Linked DNA regions of Homo sapiens: region 2 is linked to region 1. The links are contacts of gene promoters, found by promoter capture Hi-C in blood cells and fetal thymus (Javierre and others, 2016). All regions are on one chromosome and are shown on one strand. Each heading gives the region's core, a stretch centred on a gene start or on the middle of the fragment in contact. The rest is flanking DNA. Distances are from core to core; before and after follow the strand shown.

The links. The method cuts DNA at HindIII sites, captures the fragments that hold promoters and counts their contacts. A CHiCAGO score of 5 or more calls a contact.
Region 2: a contact is called between a fragment that was not itself captured here and the fragment with the promoter of HECTD2 in region 1, in 1 of 17 cell types (erythroblasts). The highest score is 5.1, in erythroblasts.

The regions. Positions count from the first base shown.
Region 1 is chr10:91,408,883-91,411,780 of GRCh38, reverse strand. It overlaps HECTD2 (HECT domain E3 ubiquitin protein ligase 2), which reads right to left and starts at 1,437. Exons shown (of 21, transcript NM_182765.6): 1 at 1,205-1,437. The coding sequence starts at 1,342. The region is part of intron 3 of HECTD2-AS1 (HECTD2 antisense RNA 1); the gene reads left to right. RefSeq lists a silencer at 1,081-1,670 and an enhancer at 1,821-2,030. The HindIII fragment of the contact is 4,522 bases long and covers 590-2,898 here.
Region 2 is chr10:90,894,668-90,897,367 of GRCh38, reverse strand. RPP30 (ribonuclease P/MRP subunit p30) reads right to left here. Exons shown (of 11, transcript NM_006413.5): 7 at 2,477-2,593; 8 at 1,885-1,914; 9 at 1,451-1,488; 10 at 976-1,055. Among named protein-coding and RNA genes, the nearest start is that of RPP30, 24 kb to the right of the region's middle. The HindIII fragment of the contact is 428 bases long and covers 1,229-1,656 here.

The DNA of each region.
Region 1 (2,898 bases), core at 188-2,687:
TAGGGTAATCCCTAACCCCAGCTCCAATCTACCAATCAATTGTAGCTACGCTTTTAAACGTGTATCATTACTGTTCGCAATTTGCTGCATTGATTTAAAGAGCTTGTTTTAACAATTTCCAGTTATCAGGGCCCTCAGACATTTTTGAAAAACCTACCGAATCCGAAAATTATTCCTAACACCAATACAGTACTTAACGAAGAGTGAGCTATTTTAGTAAGTTCTTAGTCATTTAAGAGGGAGGTTTTAAGAAATGAACCGCAAGTAGGAATAAAGAAAATGTATAATGTTCACTAAACTTTTACTATTTTGTCACACACAGCTGCATGACAAGTCATGATCTTTAAATATATCAAAGCAAACTTTCAAAAAGTACTTAAATATTATGTCAAAATAAAAAATTGCAAAATCCGAGGTTTTTTTTTAAATTGTGCTTCAAATTAACCAGTCACAACCACCAGTAAAAATAGGGAAAGAGGGGGAGGGGGCTGTCCCATGACATCATCTGGCAATATGTAGTTTGAAGCCTGACAGCGCTCTCCAAATAACCCTTACGAAGATACAGCTGGGAAATCATCCCTGTCAAGCTTAGATAACTTGGGTTTAAATAAAAGGTTCAAAAAGCCTCCCCCCACCTGAGTCACATGTCTGTACCATATGAAAAATAAAACCATCACTGATGCATCTACCTCCCACTACACTGACAGCAACGGAAAGGTCACAATTAAGTGGAAACTCGCCGCAGAGCCTGTTTAATCTGAAGGGGGAAGGGAAAGAAAAGCGAAGAAAAGGACAAAAATCTGCGCGCCTCCAAGGCAGGCAGGCAGGCAGGCACCTCCGTGGAAAACCCACTCCCGCCTGCTGACACCTATGCTCATCCAACAGATCATGCCGACTCAAGATGCAGGTCATTCTCTTAGAGAAAGTGGGGGCCCAAGCCCCAGAAAATAACCCAAACATCCAGCGGAACCGACCACCCCCAACATTTCCCGAGGGTGGTAGGTGTACCTCGCGAAGTGTTCGGGGCTGTCCACGAGGCACAACTCTTTTATTTCTGCCCAAGGAAGGGCGGCCTGAGTGCGTCTCCCTGGAGTGCCAGGGCGTGCCCAGGGTAAACGCAGGCCTCCTGACGGCCCTCGCCCGGCCGCCGTCCCTCCCAACTCCCGCCGTCCGGGGCGCCAGACGGCCCCGGCCCACCACCTACCGCGGTCGCGCCGGCGCCCGCCGATACGATGGGCGGCAGCTTCTCGCGCTCTGACTCCTTCCCTTTCCTCTCCTCAGGCGCGGGCGCCGCCACCACCAGCGGAGTGGCGGGCGAGGGTACCCGAACCGCCTCACTCATGTCGGGCCGGGCGGCGGGAGCGCCAGGCGGCGGCGGCGGCCTCAGTGTTGCTGGGGCTGGCGCTGCTGCTGCCGCCGCGGCCGCGAGAGGGCTCTGGGCTGCCGCTTCTAGCCGCCGCTGCCGCCGCCACTCCGCCCCCGCCCGCGCCCGCGCCTTTGCGCGCGAGCCCGAGGCCGCCCCCGCGCGCGCCAGCCCCGCGGACGCGGCTCCCCACAGGTCCCACAGGTTTCTTGCTCTCGCCTCCCCCGCCCGCCCGGGGCTCGCGCGTCGCGGGTCGGGAGCGCCGGCGGTAGTCCCCCTCGTCAACCCCGAGGGCCCGGAGAGAAGGCGCCACGGTCGACGCCCGACCGCCATATTGTTTGCAGAGTGTCGCCCGAGATGACGAGGAGACCCCGCACCCGGGCCGCGCAGGAGAACCTGGACTAAGGACGGGCAGTCGGGGAGACAAGTCGAGCCCTGCAAAGGGTCGGACGGGGATAGAGTGTCCGAGTGGTACCAGTAGGGCAGGACGTAGGCACAGACTACCCTTCACGGACGGCCCTGGCCTGCGGCGCCGAGTCCCGCGGGCAAGCGCCCTCGGGGTCTGGGCTGGTGGCCTTTCGCCTTCTTCCAGGCGCCCACAAAGCTGTCCGCCTTGGGGCTTCTGCCTTCTTATCCTTGCCCGCCCTCCTGAGCCCAGGAGAGGCGGCCCGGAGCTTGCGCAGCCCGGGGAGACAGCCTTCCTGGCTCAGCAACCGACTCTTTTGTACACGCCTGGATGGCTTCAGCCTACACAGGAAAAGCCTGGAGGTGGGGAGGAGTGCGACGTGGTGGGCCCCCCCTTTCCCCTTCCCCCATAGGATTGGACGGCCAGTCCACACTTTCCATTCCTGTTCCTCTCGTCCCTCTTTGACTGCCAAATCCGCCTCTCCCTTCCCGTCCCCACGCGCCTACGTTTTGCTCTCTCCCCGCAACCCTTTGCTGTCTCCTATCCGTCCCTTCCTTGTTCCTTTCCGTTTATGTTAGAGATGTACATACCCAAACTCTGCTGCACAGTCCTCAATCAAATCATTACAAATAGGAGTAAAAACTTGAAAGCCGAAGAAGAGAGCTTTTAATTATGAAATTAAAATACCCCCCACCTCCACCACCAGGACACCTAGACAATTTCCTTTCCTTTCTTGTCGCCCCCTCCTTTTCCTTTTTCTCAGTCTACTGGAGCGGCGGGGACACCTGCTGATCTAGGAGAAAAGAGAGTAAGAATGCGCTGTATCGCCTGTTAAAAGCAAGGAATTTCGATATTCAGCTCTATCAGATTTTTTATCTGTGCCTTCATTATTTTATTGGAGGTTGAGTGAATTTTTAGATCAAGAGTACCTAAGTCCAAATATAAGAACCAAAAATATCTCTGAAACAAACCCAAATATGATTTCGGGGTATCTATTGTTTACATAATTTGGAGTTATTAGTATAACTAAATACTAGTTATGGTGCATCATGAGATAAGGTTGCATGTTTTCAAACCCACAATTTGTAACAAGTAGATCTGAAGCAAACAATGTTGCCTTCTAAATTTT
Region 2 (2,700 bases), core at 193-2,692, 510 kb after region 1:
CCAACACACAAGCCCTCAATAACCTAGCTATTCATATGACAAATAACTCAGTCTATATGTAGCAATCTACTTTGAAGTTTAAAATTCACTTGGGTGATATCAATGAAATTGCTTCTTAACCACTACAACTAGTCCTAAGAATTATAAAGATAACGAAGACAAAACAGTGATCAAAAGCTTAAATTGTTTTAATAAAATTTCACTTTCATTTTCCAAAGTTTCAGCATACTTTCAATTTTTAACATCTGATGAGCAGGAAACTCAGTCAGTGAAAAGGTACATATACAAAATGTGAGTAAAAAATGTACAGTCTGGCCGGGCATGGTGGCTCATGTCTGTAATCCTAGCACTTTGGGAGGCTGAGGTAGGAGGATTGCTTGAGCCCAGGAGTTCAAGACCAGCCTGGGCAACATAGTGAGACTCTGTCTCTATTTAGAAAAAGAAAAAAAAATAAAAAAGGTACAGTCTGGACACAACTTGACCATGTAAGCAAACATGAGAAAAGAAACATTCTGAGTTATAATAAATGTAAAAGTTACAGTCTATGTTTTGTTAGTTGGATTTTTAAAAATGTATTTGCTGGTTTTGTTTTCCTAATAAATAGTTTAACACATATTTTTAACATATCCGTTCTCTAAAACAGAGATTTTCAACAGGGAAAGCATGGCCTTCTGGTGAGGGAGAAGAAGGAAGGGAGATTAGAAGCCTATCAAAATGTCGGCAGGAGCACACATGTATAGCTGGAAGAACTATTCAATACTTATTTCTGTAATGAAAACTATATTCATTCTACAAACTTTAGAAAGTAAAGCCTGAAGTGAGGGTGAGAAAACACTGATGACTGTGTTTAGAACAGGTTGAGAAAAGATGATCCCAAAGGAACTCTGTAGGGTAGGGCAATAAAAATAGGTATGGCTGTAAAAATGACTTGCTTTTAACATGACCATTCAGTTTGTACTGGAAGAACTTGCTTACCTCCATGGAGAAGCGCTGCTCGGCAGTTGGTGGACACCGCAGCCTTGGCGTCACTTTCAGAGAGCCCAAACAGCAAGCCTCTTGGGGGAGCATTAAAGATTTCAACCCAGAGTCACCCAAGGACACGAGACTAACACAAACATAACAGAAAGTGCCAGCTAACCTGGTCATCTTGAGAGGCTAATTAATTCAACAGCAGTTCTTAGTCCAACTGGAACATGCATCTGAGAAAAGACTCATTTAACTCTAAGCTTTTATCATATGAAGTCCCTCATTCCCTCTTTTCTATCTCATGATTAATTAAAAAACAGAAGCATAAAGCTCTCTATAATGTTATATAATTTATTTTTGAAGTTATTAATTGGTAAACTTACAGTAAAAGGTTGAGAAAAATACATGTTCAACTATAATACGACTTCAAATTCAAAATTTCCTGAAAGACAATGTCAACAACTTTTTACTCAGAAAAGGATACAGATTTGCCACGTCATATGGCCCTCTTATTTCTAAAGGCTGAAATAAAATGAACAAAGAGTAGATATGAGAAAATTATTTATAACATTTCAATGACTTATAGCAAATTAATAGAAAATTTAAGTATCCAAAAATAAAAAAATTACATAAATTTAAGTCCTTATAATTTTGATGGGTTTCATAGCTTTTGAAAATATAAGAGAAGCTTGAAAGGCATTTTGTAACAGTATAAAAGAAAAACTGATTATATAAACAAAAGTTGAAGCCTAAAGAAAGTGGGGATAAATTTTACTATTTAGCAATTACAATGAGCAAATGCAGTTAAAATAGAAAAAAATGCAACAAATATTCATTTACTATTTTAATTTATCCCCTAGAAACTGAAAAGTTTTATAACCTGAAAGATGAAAACAAAGTACTTCATGCTAGACTTACCCTTTCTGCAGCACTAGATATAATTACATTCTACAAAATAGAAAGTGACTAATATTAATCTTAGATAAATGTAAAAAAAGGAGTTTCATAATATAAATAGCCAGTAATCATATTTTAACATTTAAGGCTCAAATACCAACTTCTTTTAAAGATAAGGTAAATAATTAAGGTGAAAAAAATGAAAAGACTTCATGTCAAACTAAAGGCAATCTGTAATAAAAAACAAAATATGTTTTCCTAACAGATCTTAGTAAAGGTGAATTAAGTTTAAAAAACAAGATGAAAAGGTCACATATCTTAATTCAACTCAGTGAGGACCATTGTTATTCTAGACTTTTCTTTCACAGTATGTAAATTGCAAATTTTTATCAAAAGATATGGCTTCCAACACATCTTTTTCTCCCTTACATTATTCTTCCCTTGGTATTTTTCTTTCCCTTAAAATTTGCAGAGCTCACTGAAATGGCAGAATTTGTTCCTATGCTATGAGAACATTCTGCTTTAAGGAAAAGGAGTCAGTTTGACAATTCCAGTGTACTACTAATAATAAACTGCCAGATGCGAAAAACATCCTAAAATTATAGAACCATACCTTTCCTTTGCAGATTTGCATCAAATTGAGGGCACTGGAAATTGTATACCTTCTCATTGTGGAGTCTTTGATAGCAGGGCTATAGACAAGTTCAAAAGCCAGGCCTCGGTCAATCGCCTTCACAGGAAATAAAGAGAACTGTCAGAGATAAGCATGCACTGGCCTACTTCATTTTCACTGATTCTCTCTTCACATCCCTCCTCACTCCCTACTACTGACCCCTT